2 separate regions of the Homo sapiens genome follow, and region 2 is linked to region 1. Evidence: promoter capture Hi-C in human tissues and cell types (Jung and others, 2019). All regions are on one chromosome and are shown on one strand. The core of a region is centred on a gene start or on the middle of the fragment in contact, and the rest is flanking DNA. Distances in the headings are between cores, read along the strand shown.

What was found. Contacts are between HindIII fragments. The study calls those that stand out against the background at their distance.
Region 2: a contact is called between a fragment that was not itself captured here and the fragment with the promoter of SNAPC4 in region 1, in 2 of the 25 tissues and cell types used here (H1 embryonic stem cells and pancreas).

The regions. Positions count from the first base shown.
Region 1 is chr9:136,395,912-136,401,889 of GRCh38, forward strand. It overlaps SNAPC4 (small nuclear RNA activating complex polypeptide 4), which reads right to left and starts at 4,259. Exons shown (of 24, transcript NM_003086.4): 1 at 4,223-4,259; 2 at 2,388-2,526; 3 at 1,066-1,112. The coding sequence starts at 2,517. RefSeq lists enhancers at 1,543-2,742, 4,472-5,408 and silencers at 3,917-4,026, 4,097-4,226, 4,297-4,506, 4,657-4,706. The HindIII fragment of the contact is 18,374 bases long and covers 1-5,978 here.
Region 2 is chr9:136,458,432-136,464,485 of GRCh38, forward strand. SEC16A (SEC16 homolog A, endoplasmic reticulum export factor) reads right to left here. Exons shown (of 32, transcript NM_014866.2): 9 at 5,989-6,054; 10 at 5,248-5,309; 11 at 5,032-5,170; 12 at 4,456-4,701; 13 at 2,746-2,843; 14 at 1,611-1,692; 15 at 1,326-1,443; 16 at 1,013-1,124; 17 at 703-808. Among named protein-coding and RNA genes, the nearest start is that of SEC16A, 22 kb to the right of the region's middle. The HindIII fragment of the contact is 9,536 bases long and covers 1-6,054 here.

The DNA.
Region 1 (5,978 bases), core at 3,009-5,508:
ACCCTGGTGGGCAGCGGGAGGGCGTCTGAGTTTGGGAGTGGAGCCTGTCACTCTCAAGGCGGCCTGTGTGCGCCTTTCCTAATCCACGGCAGGCAGAGCCTCCAACCTGGAACACGCCAGGGCTGCGGCTGCTGCAAGGCAGCAGGCAGCTTTCCAGGACCACAGGCGTCCTGTGAACCCTGAACTCTGTCCTGAGCCCCTGTCGTGTGCATCACCAGCAAAGCACGGGGAGCAAGCCTGTGTGGGAGGAAAGTCTCTGCAGAGCCAGGAAGTGGACGCAGTGAAAATGCCCACTGGGAGGTGAGGTGCCCACAGGCTACAGCAGGGTGCTCACTCACAGAAGGTGAACCACACAGCCACGCAAACATGAGGAAACTCAGTACCCACTAACTTTGCAGAAAAAGGAAGCAGCAAATCGCCAACGTTTTCCAAAGTAAACAAAAGGCAGCTAATAAAATAATCACTGGCCTCACAGAGCAGTTGCCAGGTGCTGTTTGGGTGCTTGTGTATTTTTCTTTTTTTTGAGACAGGGTCTCACTCCATCACCCAGGCTGGAGTGCAGTGGTGCAATCACAGCTCACTGGAGCCTCGGCCTCCTGGGCTCAAGTGATCCTCCTGCCTCAGCCACCCAAGTAGCTGCGTCCACAGCCACGTGCCACTGCACCAGCTAATTTCTGTATAGCTGCTCGTGTTAACTGACTTGTGCTGTAAACGTCCCCGCTGCCCCACAGGAATCTGAGGCACAGAGAGGCGAGCTGTGAGGGGCAGGACGCAGGTGCACAACTCACAGCTTTCCGCAAGTGACAGATGCCACACAGGAGACAGAGGCATACAGCAATGAGCTCAGAAAAAACCCAAGGGGTGTGATCACCAAGCTGTTAACAGTGGTTATTTCTGGGGACAATTTCAATGACAAATGCTTTTTAATTTTTTTATAACAAACGTGAATCATTTTTATAATGCAGAAAAACCAATATGGGTTCAAACCACGCCCCCTCCCAGGCTACTTTGGAAGGTGGTGGCAGGCCTGACCCAGTGGCACAGCCAGATCAGGCCAACAGTTACCGAGATCGGGGGATCGGCAGGATCCAAGTCCTCAGAAGGCAGTGAATCTGTCAGAAACACAAGCAACACCGTGTTGGTAACCAGCGTCTTGGGCAGGGTGGGGGCGCAGCTCACCACTGCTTCTTGGGCAGACCTGGGGTTGTGAGGTAGTGACAGCGCCTCAGGCTGAGGCTGGCGGTGAGCGGACCTTCCCTCCCTGACAGCGGGGTGGGCACTGGACCAAGGCCGGGTTAGCCAGATAGAGAAAACTCTGACCACACACTGGGGACCTCCAGGCACACAGGACAAAGCTACACAGGGTTCACTGGATGGCACAAGCTATCTTTACTGGAGAGACAGGGAAAGTTTAGCAGAAAACGGACCTCTCCTTCAGGAGCTTAGCCGGTCAGATGGGAGGCACGGATGTAGAGGCCCTCACCACAGGAGAAAGATAGCAGGTTGCCTCAGAGGCAGGCCCTGGGTCTGGGAGAGGTGGGAAGCAAGGCTGGGGGGGTCTCCTGTCAGGGCAGCAGCTGGTGGGGTTGGGGTAGGCTCAGAAGCTAAAGGGAGCATGGAGGAGAGCATGTGGGGAGGGGAGCATGTTGGGAGGAGAGGCTGTGGGGTGGGGAGCCTATGGGGTGGGGAGCACATGGGGAGGGGAGCACGTGGGGTGGGGAGCACGTGGGGAGGGGAGCACGTGGGGAGGGGAGCACGTGGGGAGGGGAGCACGTGGGGTGGGGAGCACGTGGGGTGGGGAGCACGTGGGGAGGAGAGCACTTGGGGTGGGGAGCACGTGGGGAGGGGCACATGTGAGAAGAAGAGATCCTAGGGGTGTGAGCTGTGTTGACCATCCAGGCATGGACTGTCCAGACTGCCATCTGGTGAGGTTCAGGCCTGCCCCCTCCTCCCAGGATGGTCCACTCCAGAAGCCCTGCACAGGCCCAAGGAGGCCAGGCCCAGACCCTGGGATGCCTAGAGCCCAGTGTACACACACAGCCAGCTGGTTCAGGGGCTAGCAAAGGAGGAATTGTCAGAAGCTCTCTGGCTGGAGTACAGAAAGACACCAGTGTTGGCAAAAAATTGGGTCTGGTCCAAGCAGCACCAGCCATCGTTTATTATTATTATTATTATTTTTAGAGACAGGGTCTTGCTGCGTTGTCCAGGCTGGACATGAACTCCTGGGATCAAACAATGCTCTCACCTCAGCCTCAGGAGTCCCTGGGTTTACAGGCCTGAGAAACCACACCCGGCTACCATCACTCCCTAATGTGCCTGAGAGGAACCCAGGAGGCAGACCAGCTGTTCTTACCAGGACCCCAGGAGGCTAGGTACAAGGGGCTTACCTGCTTCAGAATCTGACTCGAGACTTGATTCTGAGATCTCCACGTGGGAGCCCGAGGAGCCGGGATCCAAAATCCTTTCCAGCTCCTTGATCTCCTGTGTTATCTTCTCTCTTTCAGCATCTACATCCATGACTCCCGCCTGCCTCCAAAACACACCCCGAGATGTTAGAAACCAAGACCGTGCCGGGATCCCATTCTCCTTCAGACACACCCGCCCATGGGGGATGGCAGGAGCCTGCTCGGCAGTGGGCACTGGGCTCCCCAGAGAAAGATTAATAGGCCAGGCACAGAATCGGGGAACCCTGGGACAGGAACCTCAGACCCCACAAACTCCTGCTATGTGCTCTGCCAGGAGCCTAAGCCCCAAGAACATCTCCCGCCTGCTCTGAGGCTGCAACCAGCACAGGCAGGGAGTGGATGAACAAGGACAGGCCCCACTGTCCCGTCTCTGCTCCCACACCAAGCCACATGGAAACTGGCCACCCAGCGTAGAAGGTGTGGGGTGCAGTGGCAAAGTCACTACAGGGCAAGGACACAGCCCGTGACCCACTTTGGCCATCCTGCTCTCCCATGACACAGAGCCGGACCACAGAGGGCATTTGAGAAACGTTCACAGAGACACACACTGAGACTGCCCAGGTGGCAGGCACTAACAGCATGGTTGGGAAGGAAGCTCCCAAAGGGAAGGCTGGCTGTTCTCTGTACATCCAGAACAACGCCTGGAACGTGGCAGTGCCTGACACTAACAAATGTTTGTCAAGCTTTTTTCTTAGGAACTGTGGTCCAGGAAGTCTGAAGGGAGAAGGACGCTAGAGAGAGAGTGGGAGAATGAAACATTAGCAGAGAAAATCTAAAGGAATCACTAGCACAGACCCGGGAGCCCAAAACACCCAACAACAAAGAGAAACGCCCTCCCCCGTCCTTGGCGTGGCTCTCCCTGCTGGAGGCTGACTGGGGCCCTGCCCAACTGGAACAAAACCAAAGCATCCACCCGCGAGCACCGTTAGCCGCATCAGCAGCCCAGGTCCCCTCACTCCTTCACAAAGCCCCTTGTTTATGCCCGAAATGCTTGTGAACCTGTAAACTCAGTTAACAGCCGGCCAGAGGCAGAGCTGGCAGCGACCGCAGGCTGGTTCAGCGCCTCCGGGCCGGCGGAGACGCTTTCCTCTGGAAGCCTCACACGAGGCTGCTGCCTCCCCCTCCCCGTGTCGCTCAGGTGAGCAATGATCAGCAGGAAGGAGGTCAAAGTCACACGTGCTGAGCCACTGACATCAGGGGCTGTCCCTCTCCCCGCACCCCTCTCCCAAGGGCTGGTCATGAGGGCTGCCCACCAAGACGGAGCGCAGCAGGCGGTCCCTCCAGCCCCAGCTGCGGGGACGCCACCCAGACTCGGCTGGGCCCAGGGAACCCCAGGATGCGCCAGGACGATGGGCGTTTAGGCACTGGCTTGGGAGACAGACCCGGCCCAGGCCCAGTTCCGCCTCCTGCTCGCTGCGTGAACTGGGGAAACCCCCTCCGAGGCTCGGCCACCGCGGAATCGCCGGCGCAGTCCCCGAGACGCACGCGGGCGCCCTGCAGCCGGGGCCGCCCCGCCGGAGCCTCCTCGGAGCCCGCAGCCCGCTCCCAGCCGAGGGGCTCCCAGGGCCAGAATCCCCGCGCGCCCAGGCTCGGCCGGACGGGGGCCACGCCGGGCCTCAGTTTCCCCGACTTTGGGCGCTGCCCCGCCCCCGTCCCGGGCCTCGGCTATCCGCTCCTCGGGACAGCGCCCCCTCCACGGGGAGAGCCCTGAAGCTGCCGACGCCACCCGCGCCTCACCTGCTGGGCGCACACCTTACCTGGCCGCGCGGACCCCGCCGTCGCCCGGGCGACTGCAGACTCGACGCTTCCGGCGGCTGCAGAACAAGAGCGCCGCGCGCCGGAAGTCCCGCCTCCTGAGGCGCGGGGCACGCCGGGACGGCCGCTGCGGCCTGCCGGGACTAGAGAGGCGAACGGCTCGATGCTGCCCTCGCGCGGCCGCCCTGGGGGCCGCCTCCGCGCGCTCTGGAGGGGCGCGGGTGGACGCGGGACCTCAAGGCAGGGGACAGACAGGGACAGGCACCCGGCCACCTGGTCACGATCCGGAAGACCGGCCCTTACTGGCTGTGACCTTCGGCCATCGCTGGACCTCTCTGTGCTTGTTTCATCCTCTGTTAACGGACATGTTGGGGTTTGGTTAAGCAACGGATGAGAAAGTCTACGTGAAAGGCTTTTTCCCCAGCCTGCCCTGCATGCTCAGGATCGCCGAGGCCAGGCCGATCTCCAGGCACGTGCAGGAGACTGAGGCCAGAGGGTGGGGGCCCGCACCACACAAACTCGCTTCCCTGGTCACCTGTGCACACCCTCTGGGGTCTCCTGGCCTGGAGAGCTGCCCCGGGGCCCTCCCCTAAGTGGGCATTCATTCCTTCAGGAACGTGCCAGGGCTAACTCGGCCGGGAGCTGGGCAGGGGCCTACAGTTCCTGGCTCCTGAGAGCTTCTAAGTATCGGTGCTGCAAAGACATCCTGGGCCCAGCCAGTTGAGGGGGCCTCCACTCCAGCCTGGGGTGAGCTAGGGGCATCAGCTGGAGAACTATAAAGAGGGTTTGCCCTGCCTACCTAGGAGGTGGGCTTTTGGTGGCAAAGGGCTAGGCCCAGGTGAGGCCAAACTGGGAGCTAGGGATTGGCAAGAAACAGATGGAGGGGATGGAACCAGGCGGCTGGGGGCTCCTCGAGCGCCTCGTTTCAGTCCCTGCATCGGGCTTGAAATCTGGAGGCAGAAGGCAGGCACTAAATACCGCGCCACAAATTGTATTTTTAAACTTCTTACTATCAAACGCTTCAAACACAGACATCAAAAGAGAGGGGTGCGCAAAACCCACATGCCCATCCCCACCGCGCTTCCCTGGGCCCCACCTGCTCCATGAGCTGCTGGCATGAGGGCCAGGGGACCACCCCACTTCACACGCATCTGGTGGATGGGACCCGCCTGGCGATCTGGCCTTTGTGACCCCCACCCCATCAAATGCTGTCTCTCCCAAAGGGCCTCAGGGAAGGCCTGTGGCCTGAGGCATCCTCCCCAGATGCCCCCATCCTGCTGCTACAGGGCTCCCAGAGCTGCCTATACACTCAGAACCTCATTCCGGCACTTCCCAACCACAGCACCCTGTCTCAAGTCAGCTCTGCCAACAGAATCCAGAGCCTGCTTTCACCAACCAGCAGGAGCAGGAGGCGCATAGGGCTACGCAGCAGGACCGCTCCACAGTGACTGCTGGAAAGCTCTGGCCTTCACCTGTAGCTAAGGCTAGGGGTCTAGCAATTCAGACGCCTTGTTTGAAAAATTCAACCACATGATCCGAAAAGATGATCCAATGCTAGAATCCAGTCTGTCCAGCTCTGAAACGTGCAGCTGCGTGACTCACACGTCCATCACGTGTGGGTCCCAGTGGTCAGGCCCAGGCAGCAGTGGTCTGAGTCTGCCCCTAACCCCAAGGGCTGAGGACCTGGAGAGAATCTGCCAGCACAAGGCACCAGTTAGGGCAAGAGCAAGTGAGGTGTGGAAGCCCACGGCGTTCTCC
Region 2 (6,054 bases), core at 2,116-4,615, 62 kb after region 1:
TCCTGGCTAACACGGTGAAACCCCATCTCTACTAAAAATACAAAAAATTAGCCGGGCGTGGTCGTGGGTGCCTGTAGTCCCAGCTACTCGGGAGGCTGAGGAAGGAGAATGGCGTGAACTCAGAAAGCAGAGCTTGCAGTGAGCGGAGATCGTGCCACTGCACTCTAGTCTGGGTGACAGAGCGAGACTCGGTCTCAAAAAAAAAAAAAAAGCTCATACAGGCTAGGTGCGGTGGCTCACGCCTGTAATCCCAACACTCTGGGAGGCTGAGAGGATGACTGCTTGAGCCCAGGAGTTTAGGATCAGTCTGGGCAACACAGTTTTTTTCTACAAAAAATAAAAAAAATTAGTGTGGCATGGTAGTGCTGCTTGTAGTCCCAGCTACTCTGGAGGCTGAGGTGAATCACTTGAGCCTGGGAGTGATCAAAACAGTGCACTCCAGCCTGGGCAACAGAGTGAGACCCTGTCTCCCTTAAAAAAAAAGCTCATGAAAATAATTGAAATCAAATGCAAACGGAAAGCCTCAATTCAATGGGATCTTGTTTCTTAGCATTTTAGATCAAATGTCTTCTCAAGATCCTCCCCCAAAAAACTCACATCATTTTTTTCGATACCAATTCAAACAATCTAAGTAGCCAAAAGCTTGTTAGCACTGAGTGCCTGCCCAGCCATGACAGCTGCAGGCTGGCAGCACCTGCTTACCTGGAAACTAGGCAGGGGGCAGGTCTCGGCACCCAGGGACTGGGCGTACTCATAGGCTTCCGTCCTCTGGATTGCTTCGTTGGTTGCGAACTTTAAGAATGGCAAACTGTAGAGGAAGTGAATTATTTTGATTTGGAAAAAATGGCCAATTATTGGCATAGTCAACCTTGGAGCAAATCATCCAGAAGTGTGTCCCACCACGTGACAAATAAAGACATGATTCTGGCCATTTCTGAATTCACTAAAGGAGAAGGATTTTGTTTTACTTTGAAAGGAAAACTTACAGGACTACACTGACTTGGTTCTTTACCTGTGATTGGATCCGATTAAGACAAGCTTTGTAGTTTTCTTCGTGTAAACACCAAATCCCGCCTGGGCCATGAGGTAGCAGAAGTGGGCCGCATCCAAGAGGCCCCTTGAAGCTGCGGAGAGACGACACGACACACGGCGGGGGCTCAGCGACCGGGAGCGCTTGCAGAAGTCAAGGACGCGCACAGAAGGCACCAGAGACGCCAGCCGGACCGAGAAGGCCGGGTTCTGGTGATTTCTGCCAACGCCACAGACAACCGGGCCTTCGGCGCTCCATCCGCGACACCCAATGCCCATCTCCACCCCTGACCTACCCAGAGTGTCGCCCATGGTAGCCATCGTCCTGGACTCGACGTCCATGTTGTTGTTCAAGTTGGACAAGACCATGGCGAGGTGCGGCCTCCAATCTCCCCATTTCTCGTCTCCACAGCACTAACATGAGGAAAAACAAAACGAAGCCTCATCCCCGGAAGCCAGCGCCATTTCAATTCCACACAGCTGGGCTCACCAGGCACCTCACGGCCTGTGACAGCGTCACCCACGAGCAAACTCCACACAGGCAGTGGAGCCTGTGCAAGCCACCAGGCAGTGCCACTCACCGTGGACGCGGCAGGCATCCGTCCGGACATGAGCTGGTAGACTGTCTGCAGAGGGTCGTTGATTGGGAGGCTGTTAGCAAACCTAGGCAGACATAAACACAGAAAGACCCCATGCTGGCTCAGCTAAAAGAAAAAAGCCGGCCGGACATGATGGCTCACGCCTGTAATCCCAGCACTTTGGGAGGCCAAAGTGGGCGGATCACCTGAGGTCAGAAGTTAAGAGACTAACATGGAGAAACCCCATCTCTACTAAAAATACAAAAATTAGCCGGGTGTGGTGGTGCACACCTATAATCCCAGCTACTCAGGAGACTGAGGCAGGAGAATCGCTTGAACCCAGGAGGCAGAGGTTGCAGTGAGCTGGGATCGTGCCACTGCACTCTAGCCTGGGTGACAGAGCAAGACTCTGTCTCAAAAAAATAAATAAATAAAATAGTAATAAAATAAATTTTTTAAAAAATCAGCCCTAAGCCCTCTGATGTAATGATTAGACTTATATTTCACTTAGGCAAAGTACACACATCTCAATATTTTATTTTTCTTTCTTATCTCAATATTAAAAAAAAAAAAAAAGCTGTAAAAGATAAGGCCAGGTATGGTGGCTCACGCCTGTAATCCCAGCACTTTCAGAAGGCCAAGGCGGGCAGATCCCTTGAGGCTAGGAGTTTTGAGACCGGCCTGGCCAACATGGCAAAACCCACCTCTACTAAAAATACAAAAAATTAGCTGGGTGTGGTGGTGGGTGCCTGTGGTCTCAACTACTTGGGAGGCCAAGGCGTGAGGATCACTTGAACCTGGGAGGCAGGGGTTGCGGTGAGCTGAGATCGCGCCCCTGCACTTCAGCCTGGGCAACAGAGCAAAACTCAAAATTTAAAAAAAGCTATAAAAGATGAAGACTGAGGAATTCACTGAGATTTTACATGAAGTACTAAAAACCATGCAGTTAATTAAAAACTTTTTAAGCTCTCCACAACACGACCCAAGGAAGCCTCGAGGCCAAGGAAGCCCGAGTTCGTGTGGGAGCACAGCACAGTCAAGTGAGATCCGCCTGCCGCCTGCCCCCAGGGTGCGGACGCCGCGTGCTACAGGGAGCCAGCAGGGCTCGCCACTGGACCAGGCCACTGTGGGACTGTACCTGGTCATGACTCGGGCGTGTGTCCGGCTGTCCATCTTACTTGCAAGTAGCAGAGCGTGACCCCACAGGCCATTCTTCATTGCAGACTCCAAAGCATCCTGCAAAAGGCATTTCAGGGACCTTGGTGGGTTATCGGCGGCGCTCACGTGACATGAGTCAAGACAGGCCATGTGTCCTCACGCAGCAGCAGATACACAAACAACCCAAAGGCCTCAAAAACACACTTATTCACCATTTGGAGACTAAAGACACGTAGCGATTCATTATTTTCCTGAGTTTCAAAGTCCCTGTGGTAGTGGGTATTTGTAGATATTTGCTGCTTTTATCCATTTTCAGCATAAAACACAAGCACGCTAATCACAAACAGGGCTAATCACGCAGCGCTGCCCACCACGCCGCCCCATCCACTGGGAAACACGCTCGAGTCAACTCCCCAGTTCTAACAGGAGGCCTCCGCGAATATCCTGTCAACACGGAGAGTGACTCCAGTAAGGCAGCCTCCCCTTTCACCAAAATCATCCAGGGCATAATTTAGAACTTCTGGCTGGGAGGCAAAAACGTTACAGTAGAGAAAGATGTTAATAAAAGCTAACAGGTTACATGACTTCAATCAGTTATAAAACATCCATAATAGACTCATACTGATCAGGCCGGGCGCGGTGGCTCATGCCTATAATCCCAGCACTTTGGGAGGCCAAGGTGGGCGGATTGCTTGAGCCCAGGAATTCGAGACCAGCCTGGCAACATGGTGAAACCCCGTCTCTACAAAAAAAAAAAAAAAGTTAGCCAGGCGTGGTGGCATGCAGCTGTAGTCCCAGCTACTCAGGAGGCTGAGATGGGAGGATCACTTGAACCCAGGAGGTCGAGGCCACATTAAGCTGTGATCACGCCACTGCACTCCAGCCTGGGCAAGAGTGAGACCCTGTCTCAAAAAAAATTAAAAATAAAAAAATAAAAATACTGGTCAAATATGCCCTTTCTGAGTTTATCATGATATAAAAGGACAGAAAACTCTCAGCCTATCCCATGTCTCTGCTGTTCAGGGCCACACATGCTTCTGAGACTGGCCTCTCTCCTGCTTAGCACATCCAAAGCAAACATCATGCACCCTAGACAGCCCCTCCTGTGCACATAGTGTCACTGCTGCAGTCACTATGGACCCCCCAACCCCACTGTCCCAGAGCAGGCTCCTGTCTCAGGCCCCCCACCTGCCCCAGTCCCCACGCTGCTGTGACCCCAGTCACTGGACGCTACACGCACTGGCTGCTCTCTTGCCCATGGCCTTTCCATGCACTGCGCCTCTGACAGGTTCAGTGTGCCCTCCCAACTCCCAATGACTTCTGGGCTGTGGACTCGAGTCTGACTTTGTGAGAATGCCACAACTTGTGTCATGCACATTTCATCCGAGATTTGGCACACACAGCAGGGGCACGGCCTGTGCTCAACATGTGCATTTATCGAATAACTGAAAATTTAATCTGCAGGTCTCCAACACTGGAAACAGTTAGAAGGAAACCAACATTAACACCTCCAGAAGGATGGCATACAAGAGTCAGGCATTGTTCAGGAAACAGCAAGACCCGAAGCCCCACACTGCAGCGCGGATGCTCCCAAGAGGGGGCCACGTCCCTCCCTGAAGGCTGCAACCCCGCACCAGGCCCGACCCAGTGGACATGTGCAGGCGCCAGGTGCCATGATGAGGAGGCGCACCTTCTTACGGCCATACAGCAACAGCTCCCTGAACCTCTCGGTCTCTCTCTCGAGCGAGCTGGCGGCAGCCGCCGGACCACCAGTGAGGAAAGAGAGCTGGGCCTCACCAGACTCCTCCTCTTCCACCTGCTCCACTGCCTCATTCGTGAAATCAATCAGGTTTGCTTCATTGGGCGACTTCCCAGGAAGCCACACTGTTCTGTGGTCTCGTAACAGAAGCTCCGCAATGTCGGTCCCTACCACGGTCTGTTTGGGTCAACAGGAACAGGAAGGAGAACAACGGCTCTCAGGTGAGGACGCGTTGGACCACCACAGGCACAAAGCCCCACCCTGGACACAGCCAGACCCACAACTACCCGAAAGGCTGGCAAGGCTGGGCTGAAACCTCATCCCATCCCAACCGCACGTTCCCTCTCCCTCCCTACCCAGCCACTACAGTGTGCTTCCTAAGGGGGCCCTCGAGGCTCCCATAGCTGGCCACGCGGATCCCGCCCTGCTCCTTCGGGAGGCTGAGCATTCCCAAGACGAAATGAAGACCAGCAAGAAGAAACACTCTAGAAGTAGAAAGAAACATACCCCATTTTGTCTGCATAAGAGAACAATAAAATTCCAAAGAAGACTTGCAGACTCTTTGTCAATTAAGTTTTCATTCTGCAAACATTTCATAGCTTTGTTCTGTGCAAAATTAATGACATCCACCTTATGGGTGTCGTCTCTGCAGAAAGAACACACAGTGAGCAGTGATGTCTGCAAGGCCGGGCTCACAAAGAAATGCCTCAACAAGGAACATACTTGGCCAGGGGTCCCGGGAACGCCCGCATCTCCTCCTGCTCAGACGTGTGCTGCAGCAAGGCCTACGAGGAGAGGGCCGTGGGTCAGTGGCAGCCAGTGCGCAGCCACCCTGCTGGCAGGCCGGCCAACCCAGGCACGGATGCTGCCCGTGAGAGGAGAGGATGGCATGGCCCACCTGCCCCGCCCCACAGCAGGTGAAGGCTCTGTCGAGGCTGTTACATGGAACATGGCCTGTGTGGACCACAGCCATGATTTCAAACTTTATTTTAAGTAGTGAAATCCATTTTCTCTCCCCAAATACTGAGGCAGAACCCCAATACATGTGACAGAAGCCTGCAGAAGCTGCAGGAAGAGGCGCATGCCAGCCCCCGTCACCTCGGCAGCGCCGTGCACGTCCACCCCACCCGCCCCCCTCACCTGGGCAGCACCGGGCCCACCCACTGCATCTATCATTGAAAAGCACCAATAAAGCAAACATCCCCAAAACGAGGACAGAAAATGCATATACAATCAAACCACGTTGAACACCCAAGGCAGACGCTTACAATACTGACTTCTAGGAGGAAAAATATATGATCAAATAGAAGAAAAACCCTACAAATTGAAAATTCACAGGAATAAACATTTTCCAAGGACGTATGTCCAGAGACAAGGTCTGACAATTGAAGATGACAAACTGCAAAGCAGAGAGTTCCCCAGGGCAGCAGAGCAGTGACGCCACGCTTCTGCGTGTGCCATTACCTCCATGCTGTGGACCTCCACCAAGGCCGGCTGTCCTTCTGAAGGCAGATTGGGAATCACTTTGAT